Linked DNA regions of Homo sapiens: all the other regions are linked to region 1. Evidence: promoter capture Hi-C in human tissues and cell types (Jung and others, 2019). All regions are on one chromosome and are shown on one strand. Each heading gives the region's core, a stretch centred on a gene start or on the middle of the fragment in contact. The rest is flanking DNA. Distances are from core to core; before and after follow the strand shown. Region 1 holds the start of TOMM22 (translocase of outer mitochondrial membrane 22). Region 2 overlaps GCAT (glycine C-acetyltransferase). Region 3 holds the start of POLR2F-AS1 (POLR2F antisense RNA 1).

The links. The method cuts DNA at HindIII sites, captures the fragments that hold promoters and counts their contacts. A contact is called where the count stands out against the background at its distance.
Region 2: a contact is called between a fragment that was not itself captured here and the fragment with the promoter of TOMM22 in region 1, in 1 of the 25 tissues and cell types used here (stomach).
Region 3: a contact is called between a fragment that was not itself captured here and the fragment with the promoter of TOMM22 in region 1, in 1 of the 25 tissues and cell types used here (dorsolateral prefrontal cortex).

The regions. Positions count from the first base shown.
Region 1 is chr22:38,679,328-38,683,962 of GRCh38, reverse strand. It overlaps TOMM22 (translocase of outer mitochondrial membrane 22), which reads right to left and starts at 2,006. Exons shown (of 4, transcript NM_020243.5): 1 at 1,868-2,006; 2 at 1,522-1,640; 3 at 967-1,084; 4 at 1-196. The coding sequence starts at 1,984. The coding sequence ends at 122. TOMM22-DT (TOMM22 divergent transcript) reads left to right here and starts at 2,107. Exons shown (of 2, transcript XR_007068097.1): 1 at 2,107-2,237. RefSeq lists silencers at 1,663-1,712, 2,103-2,172 and enhancers at 1,903-1,972, 1,019-2,218. The HindIII fragment of the contact is 12,362 bases long and covers 1-4,635 here.
Region 2 is chr22:37,809,635-37,814,269 of GRCh38, reverse strand. GCAT (glycine C-acetyltransferase) reads right to left here. Exons shown (of 9, transcript NM_014291.4): 2 at 4,113-4,243; 3 at 1,282-1,383; 4 at 661-807. Among named protein-coding and RNA genes, the nearest start is that of GCAT, 4.0 kb to the right of the region's middle. The HindIII fragment of the contact is 3,636 bases long and covers 885-4,520 here.
Region 3 is chr22:38,030,098-38,034,732 of GRCh38, reverse strand. It overlaps POLR2F-AS1 (POLR2F antisense RNA 1), which reads left to right and starts at 505. Exons shown (of 2, transcript NR_199596.1): 1 at 505-568; 2 at 1,578-2,561. It also overlaps a transcript of POLR2F not described here. RefSeq lists enhancers at 225-1,500, 2,512-3,711. The HindIII fragment of the contact is 4,209 bases long and covers 639-4,635 here.

The sequences.
Region 1 (4,635 bases), core at 757-3,256:
ACCAGGTTTAGATAGATCAATGTGCCAAAGTTAAAAAAAAAAAAAAATCCAAATTATCAGCAGTTCAAACACTTGAATTTCAAACTTATCCCACTGAGACAGCTCAAACAGCAATAACAATCTAGATCTTTCCAGGAAGTGAGGGTAGAGCCCCTGGCATTCCTCCTGAGAGCCCTGTGTTAGGTCCTAGAAGTATCTGGAAAAGAAAAGGAGGGGTGTAAGGCATCATACAGGCCTAGAGAGCTTATTCTCACCATACCTGATGGGGCCAACGTCTACAAAAATAATACTGAAAGCACAGTCAGACAACTAAAAGAGCATGGGCCCGATCCCAATCCCCACCCACACATTAACTGTTGGTCAACTCAGGTGCTACAACAGGAGCCCTCAACCCCTGGGCTGTGGACTGGCACTGGCCCATGGCCTGTTAGGAGCTGAGCCACACAGCAGTAGATCAGCAGCAGGCAAGTGAGAGAAGCTTCATCTGTGTTTACTGCTGTTCACCATCGCTCACATTACTGCCTGAGCTCCACCTCCTGTCAGATCAGCAGCAGTGTTAGATTCTCATAGGAACACAAACCCTTGTGAACAGTGCATGCGAGGGATCTAGGTTGCAAGCTCCTTATGAAAATCTAATGCCTGATGATCTGTCACTGTCTCCCATCACCCCCAGACAGGACTGTCTAGTTGCAGGAAAACAAGCTCAGGGCTCCCACTCATTCTACGTTATAGAATTATTTCATTATATATTACAATGTAATAATAGAAATTCAGTGCACAATAAATGTAATGCACTTGAATCATCCAGAACCCCCCCCCCGACCCCCGGCCACCCCCAACCCACCATCCATGTAAAAACTGTGTTCCATGAAACCAGTCCCTGGTGCCAAAAAGGTTGGGGACCAATGTGTTAGTGAAATAACTTGCGTCTCCACCACTGGCAAAAAGCCCAAGGTCTGGGCTCACCTGCCGCTGCTGCAGTTGCTGCTGTTGCTCCATTTGCAACTTCTCCGTCTCAAAGACAACGGGAAGAACCAGGATCATAAAGGAAGTGGTCCCAATCCACAAGGCTGCCCTGGAAAACCTGCAGAGGAAAATCCCCAGAGGGTGAGCATGAAGACATGCAAACAAAACAGGCAAGAACTACCCAGTAACCAAACCTCTCACATTACATACTCCAATGTTTTTGATAAACGTATTCTACCCGCTCCTTACACCATACTCCTACCAGAGACAGGAGGAGCAGCTATGGTAGCTGTATCATCTAGTGATGGCGGTTTAACATTCTCCTGAGTTCTTACAAAGCTCCTTATTCATTAATTATCTCCAACAATCTGAAATAACCCCCACAACTCCCCTGCCAGGTAAGAATCCCCATTTTACAGAAGAGGAAACTAAGAAAGGATAGGGTACAAGCCCAAGGTCACCCAACACGGGTCTGCTGCTTCCAAACCCCGTGTTCTTTCACAGCACCACGACCATCCCATGCACGTACCCAGTGCCTTTGCCCTCGTTCCTTACCTGTACATTTTCTGAGCCACAAAGAGGGAAAGATCAAAAGTGGCTCCGGCCGCGGACCGGACCCTCTCCGGAAACATCTCCGTCAGGCCCCATAGTCTCTCCGACAGGGTCTCATCTAGCTGTGGTGGAGTAGACGCGGGTCTTAGCCGAAAAAGCGACATCCATTCCTGGCCCCGCTGCGGCACTGGGAGCCGCCGAGCCCCACTGGAGCTAGGGCACCCAGGGCCCAGCAGGGCCCCTAACCCCGCCTCCCAAAGCAGCCGCTTCGCTCCGATCCCGTACCACGCGGATCCCACACCCACGAGCGGGCCCGCTTCCCGCTCTGCACCCCGCGAGGCCCTAGTACCTCCTCATCGTCGTCCTCCTCCAGCTCCTCCTCAGGCTTCTCCGCGTCGCCTTTCGGGAGCAATTCGTCCGGGGACTGGGGTTCCCCTGCACCGGCAGCAGCGACGGCGGCAGCCATGACTGTAGGGGACACCGGAAGCGGAAAGGAGGTGAGCGCAGCCGAACGGCGGACAGAGCTGCTTTTCCGGGAGCCGAGGCGCGAGCCGGGCGAGAGCGGCGCCCTCTAGCCCCGGGTCCTCCAGTGCCCGCAGCGGGTCCGGCAGCCCTGGCCTTATCCGGGCGTCGGGGCTTCGGCGGGCATTAGCAGCAGCTGAGAGGCCTGTGAGAGGTTCTGGGGCGCCACCGCAGTCATTCTGTTCAGCGGGTATAGGGTGAGCTCAGAAACTTGCTTGTTTTTCTTTTTTTCAAATGCGTTGTTTTAATTCCAGGTAATAGAGTTCAGGGGAGAACAAAGATCAAAGGGCTGACTCTGGCAAGATTCTGGGGGCTTGTTTTACTTTAAGTTCACAGCTAAGGTAGGAGTGGCTGAGTGAAAACAACTCAAGAGATGATGAGCCACTGTATTTTTTTTTTTAACAAAAGTTTATTCTTAAATTTACAACAGGCTCCAAGACAACACTTTATTCGAGCATAGGTGGCCAAAGATGTGGCCGGGAATAGAGATGTTTAAAGACGAATGGAGTCAGGCCCACCATCACCGCAGGCCCAAGGGACAGTGGAACAGGTCGCTTTTTGTAAGATTTTAGCTTTTTGTTGTTGTTGTTGTTGTTGGTTTTGTTTTGAGACGGAGTCTCGCTCTGTCGCCCAGACTGGATGGAGTGCAGTGGTGTGATCCCGGCTCACTGCAAGCTCCGCCTCCCAGGTTCAAGCGATTCTCCTGCCTCAGCATGCACCACCAACCACGCCCCGCTAATTTTTTGTATTTTTAGTAGAGACGGGGTTTCACCATTTGGCTAGGCTGGTTTTGAACTCCTGACCTCAAGTGATCTGCCCGCCTCGGCCTCCCAAAGTGCTGGCATTACAGGCATCAGCCACCGCACCTGGCCTATATATAGTTATATATTATATATAATATATATTTTATGTGTGTGTATATATATACGTATATATGTATATATATGTATATATGTGTATATATGTATATATGTGTATATAGGTATGTGTATATATGTATATATATACATACGTATACATATATACGTATTATGTATATATACATACACACATATACACACACACACACACACACACATACATATATATATAAAGACAGGGTTTCACTGTGTTGCCTAGGCTGGTCTTGAACTCCGAGACTCAAGCAATCCGACTGCCTCAGCCTCCCCAAGTCCTAGGATTACAGGCCTATGCCACTGCGCCCCACCTTGCCGGATTTCTTAATTCGGCCTGTGACCAGGGCCAAAGATTTATCTTCCTTGTCCATCTCCTTGGCCTGCTTCTTGGGCTGTTTTAGAGAGACACTGATCCAGTTTCGTTTTCCTGAGCCATGTTTTACTTGGTAGGAATAAATTAGTGTCTTGCAGGTCTTTTGGGAAAACATCAGGTAAATCTTCCCTATGTACCAAACAAAGGTAAGAGTTAACACCTAAATACCAGGTGCTCTGGTGCCTGTGGGTGTGGGTGGGTGCGGTGTGTCCTCCTTTAATCTTCACAGCAGCTCACTGGGGTAGGCACTGTTATCCCCATTTTAGAAATGAGGAAACTGAGGCATAGTACATAGATTTCTAGTAAGTAGGTGAGCTGGTCAGAAAGTATGCAGATATAAATTTTTGTTTGAGTTTGTGTGTTTGTTTTTGAGATGGAGTCTTGCTCTGTCGCCCAGGCTGGAGTGCAGTGGCATGATCTCAGCTCACTGCAACCTCCTGGGCTCAAGCGATTCTCCCGCCTCAGCCTCCCAAGTAGCTGGGACTACAGGTGTGTGCCACCATGCCTGGCTAACTTTTTGTATTTTTAGTAGAGATGGGATTTCACCATGTCGGCCAGGCTGGTCTAAAACTCGTGACCTCAGGTGATCCACCCGCCTTGGCTTCCCAAAGTGCTGGGATTACAGGTATGAGCCACTGCTCCCAGCCTCTATCAGATGCTTTCATAATAGTACAGTAAATGGAAATGTCCTTGTCCCACACCCTCCCCAGCATTAGGTGTTATCCATCTTTTTACTTTTTGCCTATATGATGGATGTAAGTGCTTCTTTTTAAAATGTGCCCCATGTTATTAAACAGGGTAATTTGATAAACACCTTTAGCCAACTGAACCTGGAATCAGAGACTCCCAGGATGGGAGAGTCCAAATCCTTCTGTGATGCATGAGGATGCAGTAATGAGCATTTGTCCTGTGTCTCACACTCCTTCCGATACAGTCCCCAGGCCTCCCTTTCATCTTTGGACAGGGCATCTCTATCAGACACTTTTTTGTGTTTGTTTGTTTGTTTTTTGTGATGGAGGCTGGAGTGCAGTGGCGCAATCTCGGCTCACTGCAACCTCTGCCTCCCGAGTTCAAGTGATTCTCCTGCCTCAGTCTCCTGAGTAGCTGGGATTACAGGCATGGCCCCGGCTATTTTTAATAGAGATGGGGTTTCGCCATGTTGTCCAGGCTGGTCTCGAACTCCTGACCTCAAGTGATCCAGCCTCCTTGACCACCCAACATGCTGGGATTACAGGCGTGAGTCTGGCCTATCAGACAGTTTTCATGTGACAAAAGGGTACTCCTGTATGATTCCATTATATAAAGTTCAAAAACAGGCAGAAACCA
Region 2 (4,635 bases), core at 1,453-3,952, 870 kb after region 1:
AATAAAAAACTGGGTGTGGTGGGCACCGGTAGTCCCAGCTACTCAGGAGACTGAGGTGGGAGGATCGCTCGAGTCCAGAAGATTGAGGCTGCAGTGAGCTATGACTGCACCATTGCAATACAGCCTGGGCAACAGAGTGAGACTGTCACACATACACAGGGAAAAACCTCAAGGCACCATGGCACAATGGAATAATGCTCTGGTGCCAGGCACAGTGGCTCACGTCTATAATCCCAGCACTTTGGGAGGCCTAGGTGGGTGAAATCAACTGAGGTCAGGAGTTCGAGACCAGCCTGGACAACATGATGAAACCCCGTCTTTACTAAAAATACAAAAATTAGCCAGGTGGGGTGGCGGATGCCTGTAATCCCAGCTACTTGGGAGGCTGAGGCAGGAGAATCACTTGAACCCAGGAGGTGGAGGTTGCAGTGAGCCGAGATCACACCACTATACTCCAGCCTTGGCGACAGAGTGAAACTCTGTCTCAGGGAAAAAAAAAAAAGAATAATGCTCTGGGTGTGAGGGATCTGGGTTCACATCTTGGACAAATCTCTGCTGTTTCAAACTTTCAGGCTATCTCTGTGAGTGAGGAGTTGGCCTCTCTAAGCCTCACTTCCTTCCCCAGGCGGAGGCTGAGGGTGGACCCAGGCGTCGCCCCACCTGGGCCTCCTGCAGCTTGGCTTCTAGGTCGGCCATGTCCAGGTGGCGATAGCGGTACTTGTGGGCCTTGCACAGCCGGATGCCGTCGATGATGGAGGCATGGTTCAGCTCGTCCGACAGGACTGCGTCCTCTGGGGTCAGCAGGGCCTGGAGGGAGGCAGTGAGCGTAGAGCCATCATTTAACCACCCTGGGCTTCTCCCTTGACCGGGACTCCAGCAAATCAAAAAACTGTACTGCCAGCCAGGGCGCTCCTCTGGGTAGAGAGGCAAGGTGTTCTGTGCTTCTCTCTGGGGCCCCCGTGTCTCAGTGCCGGGCTGGACCAGCGCCCTGCTCTAGTAAGAGGAGGTGAGAATATATTTGGTGAGTACCAGGCCCCCGCCTCCCCCAGCCTTCCAGCTGATGTAGCTTATCCCCCAAAGGCTCTGGAACTCAGGCTCCCTGCAAGCCCCAGGATTCCTCCTGGAGCACCTACCTGGCCCAACCTTGACCTCCAGAAGCGGGCTCTGGAGCCTCTAGGCATGGCACTGAATCCTGCTAGGTTCTCCCGACTGCCCACACCCAAGCCTTCCTCAGCCTAACAGGCCCCACCAACCCTCACCCGCAGGACAGCTTCCACACACCTCAAAGAGGCCGGCGTTGGCGTCATAACAGCTGGGATAGAGGATGGCATCCTCCCGCTGGTGGAAGCGGGCTATTTTTGCTTCTAGATTCTTGTGGATGCTCTGAAGAAAATGAGTGAGACACGTGTTGATGCCTGTGGGGTCATGTGGGACAAGTTCGAGGGGACAGAGGCTTGGAGGACCACAGAGACCCAACCCAGAAAGCCTGCAGCCTCAGTCTCCTTACTTTCTGCCACACATGGGCTATCCCAGAGCTGCCAGGAATCTGACAGACAGTTCCCACTGAGGAACTGGGGACCTGTTAGGTTCCCTCCCTGGGCAGACTTTGGTTTTACAGTGGCAGTCTAATGGTGGAATTACGGGCACTCGTGGAGAAGAAAGATGTGTCTTCCTAACACCATACTGAGTGTCTTTTTTGGTCGCCTAATGGTGAAGAAAAAGATCACAGAGGTAATTCTGGGTTCACCTGGGCCTCTAATTTGTAAATTTGAAAACTGTTGGGTCTGGGTGAGGGCTTTGCTGGGAAGTGACTGGATGCGAGTCAGGAGTTCTGCCTCTGACATTCATTTCACTCTCACCTTTCTGAGAGGGCAGTTAATGATAATCACAAGTAGTCAGGAGCACAGACTCTTTCTTTTTTTTGGCAAATGAGACAGGGATTCTCTGTCACTCAGGCTGGAGTGCAGTAGTGAGACCATAGCTTACTGTAGCCTTGAACTCCTGGGCTCAAGTGATCCTCCCAACTCAGCCTCCCCTCCCTAGTAGCTGGGACTACAGGTGCGCACCACCACACCCAGCTAATTAAAAACATTTTTTTTTTTTTAGAGAGAGGGTCTTGCTATGTTGCCCAGGCTGGTCTCAAACTCCAGGCATCAAGTGATCCTTCTGCTTTGGGCTCCAAAAGTATTGGGATTACAGGTGTGAACTACCATGCCCAGCCAGCATGGACTCTTGAGCCAGGGTTCAAATCCCACAACAGGCTGTGTGCCTCTGGGCAAGTCACTTAACCTCTCTGGATCTCAGTGTCCTCATCTCAATAGCGGGAATAAGAATAGCAACTATCACTTAGGATTAATGAGTTAATACTTGTAATGTTCTTTTTTTTTTTTTTTTGAGACAGAGTTTCCCTCTGTCACCCAGGCTGGAGTGTGGTCGCACCGTCGTGGCTCACTGCAACCCCTGCCTCATGGGTTCAAGCGAGCCCGGCCAGCTAATTTTTGTATTTTTAGCACAGACAGGGTTTCACCATGTTGGCCAGGCTGGTCTTGAACTCAGTAATCCACCCACCTCGGCCTCCCAAAGTGCCTGGATTACAGGCATAAGCCACCACGCCTGGCCAATAGTTGTAATTTTCTTAAAAGAATTCCTGGCACATAATAAGTACTATTTAAGTTTCATACTTATATAAATTTATTTTGTAACATTTGGAAAATAAATAATAGCCAACATTCATTGAGCAGTACTATGTGCCAGGCTGTTCTATGCTTTTTTTTTTTTTTTTTTTTTTTGAGACAGAGTCTCACTCTGTTGCTCAGGCTGGAGTGCAGTGGCGTGATCTCAGCTCACTGCAACCTCCACCTCCTAGGTTCAAGCGATTCTCCTGCCTCAGCCTCCCAAGTGGCTGCGATTACAGGCACCCACCATCATGCCAGCTAATTTTTATATTTTTGTAGAGAAAGGGTTTCGCCATGTTGGCCAGGCTGGTCTTGAACTCCTGACCTCAGGTGATCCGCCTGCATCAGCCTCCCAAAGTGCTGGGATTACAGGCATGAGCCACTGCGCCCGGCCTATTCTAAGCATTACATGTATTAAGTCTTTAATTTGTAATGATCCTATTAAGTGCTATTATCTTCATTTTCCCTATGAAGTAATTGAGACAGAGAAAAGTTAAGATACTTGCCCACAGGAACAGGGACACTAAAGGGCAGCACTGGCAACTGTGCTCCCGTCAGAACAGCCCCAGAGCCCTTAGTCTCAGTTCCTGCCGCCTACTCCTCTTTTCTTATAGAAGGTCAGGTGTGAGGGACTCTGTTTTGCAGGTGGGAAAATGAATGCTCAAAAAGGCAGTTTCCACTTTGGAAGGCCAAGGTGGAGGAGATCACTTGAGGCCAGGAGTTCAAGACCAGCCTGGCCAACATGGTGAAACCCCATCTCTACTAAACATATAAAAATTAGGCCGAGTGCGGTGGCTCACGCCTGTAATCCCAGCACTTTGGGAGGCCAAGGTGGGTGGATCACGAGGTCAGGAGATCGAGACCATCCTGGCTAACACAGTGAAACCCCGTCTCTACTAAAAATACAAAAAATTAGCCGGGAGTGGTGGTAGGCGCCTGTAGTCCCAGCTACTCGGGAGGTTGAGGCAGGAGAATGGCGTGAACCTGGGAGGCGCAGCTTGCAGTAGCCAAGATCATGCCACCGCACTCCAGCCTCAGCGACAGAGCGAGACTCCATCTCAAAAAAAAAAAAAAAAAAAAAATTAGCTGGGTGTGGTAGCATGCCTGTAATCGCAGCTACTCAGGAGGCTGAGGCATGGAGAATCCCTTGAGTCTGGTAGGCGAAGGTTACAGGGAGCCAAGATTGTGCCACTGCACTCCAGCCTGGGTGACAGAGCAAGACTCTGTCTCAAAAAGAAAAAATATATATATAAAGTTCCTTGGCCAAAGCTTTTCAGCAAAACAGAGGCCTGCACTCAGCCTTTCTGCTGCACAGCTCTGAGGCCAACAGTAGGCCCAGGGCTGTGGCTGAGCTGAGCTGGCTAAACCAGCCTTGCTGACTGTGGGAAGCAGGCAGCTGGGGTCAGTCCCCACAACCCCCCACCACTCACTGTGTACCTGGGTTCCACAGATAAAGCGGACAGAGCTGAGGCCAGCTCCAAACTCCTCCAGAGCCTGCAGACCTGCCTGGATCACCTCAGGGTGGCTGCTCAGGCCCAGGTAGTTGTTGGCACAGAAGTTAAGGATTCCTGAGGTGAAGGAGAGGAGATGGATACAGCAGCTCAGGTGGGGCAAGGGCAGGCCTGGAAAGATGACAGTGCCAGGCCCTGGGGAAATGGTCCAGAAAGGAAACAGACCTGGAGTCACCATTGAGGAGGCACCAAATTCAACAGCTACAGAAGGAGCGTCAGTGCTACACATCTTGAAGAGCAAGAAGTTTAAACTTTTTTTTTTTTGAGACAGGGTCTAGCTCTGTCGCCCAGGTTGGAGTACAGTGGTGCAATCATGGTTCACTGTAGCCCCAACCTCCCAGGCTCAAGCAATCCTCCCACTTAACCTCCTGAGTAGCTGGGACTACAGGTGCGTGCCACCATGCCCGATTAAATTTTTTTATTTTTTGTAGAGATGGGGTCTCATTATG
Region 3 (4,635 bases), core at 1,494-3,993, 650 kb after region 1:
CCCCTCCAGAAAGCCCAGGCTGACAGGTCTCCCCTGGGATTAGTTCATTCTGTCCCAAGGGGAAGCTGCTATTATTATCCCCATTTTACAGAGGGGGACATTGAGGCTCAGAGAGGGGTCCAGGGCTGCACGGCTGGTGTCAGCGCTGGGATTTCAACTCCAAGTGGCCTGGCTCTCCTTTGAGCTCTTGGCTGCCTCCGCACCCCGCCCCATGCTGGGCACTTCGGTCTCCTTAGAGCTGGTGCAGGAGGTCGCTGGTTTTGCATTATCCCCTCCCCCGCTTCTTGGAGGAGGAAGCTGGAGCCCAGAGAAGGGTTGGGACCTGCCTGCCGCCACGTGGCCAGGAAGTGGCCGAGCAGATTCTGAAGCCAGGAGTGGCTGACCCCACTCCTCTGTGACAGGCCTGGGGAAGCTGCCAGGCCTGGGACGCAGGGGTGCATGGAAGGGAAGAGGCTGTGGCCCGAGGCCCAGTGAGAGCCCAGTGCAGCCCTGGAAGGCGGAAAAGACAACTAGTGGGGATGAGGAGCAGCGTGGACAGGCCCAAGGAGCTGGGGGACAGATGGTGGTGGTGAGGCAGCAAGGCTGAAACGGTGGGAGTAGAGGAAGCAGAAGGGGAGGCGGAAGGAGCTGACAAGGGGAGTCGGGAGGACACCAAGGGGCCATGCCAAGCCCTAGGTTTTGGGGCACTCCTGCCCTGTCCGGGTTCGGCCCCAGCCACTTGACCCCTGGGATGGTGCAGGGAATAGGGGTCAGCGGCGGTCACAACCTCTCTTGACTCCCAGAATCAAAGGGGTTGGGGCCCCAAGTGAGCAGCAAACTTAGAGTCAGCATGGGTCATGAGGAGTCGCCCAGTGCCCTCGTCCACGTCACACCCTCTCCCAGCGAGCACAGGACAGAAGCCTCGAGGCCCTTCCACGGGCACTGTCGTCAGTCAGTGGAGTCACATGGGGGGCAGGCAGCGGGGCCGTGGCGCCTTCCGGTGGCTTCCCCACATCCACCCCTCCCCTCAGGATCCTGCCACCGCTCTTGGAAAACAACTGAGGAAATCAAGTGGAAACACAAATCCGCCACCCAGTCCCTCCCGCTCCGCCGGGGCCAGATCCCATCCCCCAACCCCCACTGCACTGGGGGAGCAGGCTTGGCCTCAGAGGCTGTGCCAGCCCAGCAGGGCTTGCCTTGGCGAGGCTCTGTGGGCACTGGTGATTGGTCCTGGAGTTCCCAGCAGCTGGGCCTGTCTGTCGCCCCATCTGGTCCTACAGAACCAGCCCTACCCCAGAGGGACTGGGTAACCAGGCTTGAACCCCGCTGCAACCTCTAGACTCTGGGATCTGGGGCCAGGGAAATTCCAGCCCTGGCTCTACCAGAGCCTAGCAGGCCGCCCTGGACAAGCGCTTTCTCTCTGTAGGTCTCAAGAGTCCTCATCTGTAAAATGGGAGAGATAAGCCATGCCCCGTCCACCTGAAAAGGCTGGCGAAGAAAGACAGGGCAACTAGGGAGGACAGCTCTGTGCAAAATCTCAAGATTTTGTCCACTTCCTTTTTTTTTTAATTTTCTTTTTTCTTTCTTTTTTTTTTAAGACAGGGTCTCACTCTGGGGCCCAGGCTGGAGTGCGGTATCATGATCACAACTCACTGCAGCCTCAACCTCCTGGGCTCAAAGATGGCTCACAGATGGCTGCTTTGATGTTTACAAGGAGGTGTTGCGTCACAGGTTGGGAGGTCATGAATTATGTCATGCTCCATGTGGGGGACATGAATTATGTCATGCTCCGTGTGGGGGACATGAATTATGGACGGCAGTAAGGGATTCCAGAGGCAGCTCACCAGTGGCCCACGGAGCCCTTCTCAGCTTGGCCTCCCCACCTCCCACCGTGGCCACCCCTCCTGCCCCTGCAGGCCTTCATAACTGCGCATCCAGGCAGCTTCCTTGCTGAAGCACCCTCTCCGCAGAACTCCTGCTCATTCCTCAAGACCCAGCTCGACTGTCTGTCCTCTGTGACACGTCCTGATTCCAGGCAGCATGAGGGGCGTCCGCCACCCCACGTTGGTTCCTACAGCACACTGTGTCAGTGTGGCATCATCCATCCATGTCCCCAATCAGGGTGTGGACAGGGCCTATGCCTCAAGCATCCTGGTTTCCCTGCCCCATGCCCAGTGTTGGGCCTAAGGAATAGCAGAGCTCAGTGGACTATGTGCCTGACTGTGGGCAGAGACCCCGGTCTCTCCTGGGCACACTCAGCCTCGAGGCAGCAGCTCGGCTCCTGACTGATGGATTCAGGGGCAGGTGATGGGTGTGAAGCAGTTTCCCCTGTCAGATACCCGCTGTGCATTTTTGGGAGGACCGTAACAGTGGAACTCCAGAGCTCTCCTGGGAAGATGGCTGTGGTGGAAGGTGAGAGGACACTGGCCAGTTAGAAAATGGATAAAAGCAGGCCAGGTGTGGTGCAGTGGTTCACATCTGTAACCCTGGCACTTTGGGAGGCCAAGGTGAGAGAATTGCTTGAGATCAGGAGTTCAAGACCAGCCTGGGCAACAGAGTGAGACCCTGTCTCTACAAAAAAATTAAAAATTAGCTGGGTGTGGTGGCTTGTGCCTAGGCTTCCAGCTATTTGGAAGGCTGAAGTGGGAGGATCACTTAAGCCCAGGAGGTTGAGGCTGCAGTGAGCCAAGATCGCGCCATTGTACTCCAACCTGGGCCACGGAGCAAGACCCTGTCTCAAAAAAAAAGTAAAAGAAAAAAAAGAAACTGGACAAAATCTCCAGACTTCAGACCAAAACAGAGGCCAAGACAGAGGGGACTAGAATGCTGGGGAGGGGACTACGGATGTGTTTGGAAGGAAAAATTGTCATGGCCGATGACTAGCCATAGGGGATGAAGGGGATGGATGAGTCAAAAATGACTCCGAAGCTTCATGCCTGGGTCACTGGAGAACAGTGGGGCCGTTGATGGGGCAGGGAAGCGGGGAGGGGTTGGTCTGGGGGCAGCATGGTGACGCGGGTTTGAGACATGGACTCACAGCACTTTCAGGCTGGAAGCAACCTTCGGAGGTCACCAGGGTCACACGTGAGGAAGTGGAAGCTGAGTGAGGAGCTGCCACTCAGCCGGGACACCTGTGACATCAGGCGCCTGGGACAGGGTGTTGGTGCTGGTGGGGACCTGGACAGCGGCACAGGGTGTGAAGTCCGTGCCTGCCCAGGTCCTGCACTGGGCTCTGGGGACCTGGTGGTGAATCAGACCCAGTCCCCACACTTAGGGGCTCACTGTTCCATGGAGGAGACAGACATGACTGTAATTACTACCTGGGCTAAGAGGGTGGTGTGGTGAGGACTCAGAGGGCCAAGTCTACCTTGTGGGGGGACGTGGGTAGGAGAAGTAGCCAAGGAACGAGGGCATCCTTGTTGTCAGAAGTAGGCTCCTCCGTGCCAAGAACATCTCATTTAATCCTTGCAACCATCCTGCAGGCTCTGTGGTATTACTGTCCGCATTTTACAGATGAGTTTGAAAAAGATGAAGCAGATTGTCCAGGGCCCTGCAGATGGAATGACACCCAAACTCTCGCTCTTAACCCCTGCGTCTTGGAAGAGGTGTGCTGGAGCTGAGGCCTGACAGAGTAGTAGGAGTTTCCCAAGGGACAAGGAGGGAGGGGGCGACACCGACACTTGCCAAGACCCGTCTTTCCATTGGCAGGGTCTGAAGTGCTGGTGGTCTGTAGCCTGCTTCCTTACCTCTTGCCCAGGGCCTCTCACAGCTCTTCCAGCCCTCGTCCTGTCCCAGGGCCCCTCATTTCACAGACCCTGCCTTTCCCACCCCCTACTGGTGACAGCCGACTGATCTGATGGATTTGTCCAGCAACTGAGCTGGGGGTGGGGTGGGAGAGGGCCTGTTCCTGATCCCCGGGGAACCACTGACCACGCTCCCCAGGCCTTCCCAGCACAACCCTGCCCCCACCCACACCTCCCCACTGCATGACCTCTTCTTATCCCGGGAGTGACCCTGCAAAGCAAGTCATCCCAGAGAAGTGAGGATGTGCCTGAATCACCCAGTGCATAAGCAGCTGAGCTAAGTCTCAGACCCACAGGCCTGGGGTCTCAGACCATGGCGGTCCCCTGGGCTTGGACAAACCACAGAGTACTTTTCTATCCTCGGGCTCCGGTTTGCAGGGCACCATGGGAATGATCGGGGAGAAGGAGGGTTGAGCACTAGCAGTCTTGGGCAAATACAGTTTATAACCCAGGGTGTGGCAGTGCGCTGGAGTCAGCGCACACTGGCTCCCGAGAGCCAACTGTGAAAGTCTCTGGAATCGAAGCCAGTTGATATTACCTTGGAAGCTTTGAGCCTGCCCTGATGGGACTTTTTCCACTATGAAAATTGGCAGTCTACCTCTGTGTCTCCCACCTCCACAAACAGAGCTGGTTGTGAAGCATATTTACCAGCACATGACTGTCCAGAGGGCCCGACTCCTGGCTCCCCAGGGGGCTTGTGGGTTCTCTCAAGCTCCCAGCCCTATCTGGGGATCTTCGGGGAGTCGTTCTTGCTCAAAATCCATTGATATCTCCCACTTGCCACCAATAAAAGTCCAGACTCCTCCCCTGGGTTTTCCATCCCCAGCTTCAGGCCCAGGCAATCTTCCCAGCT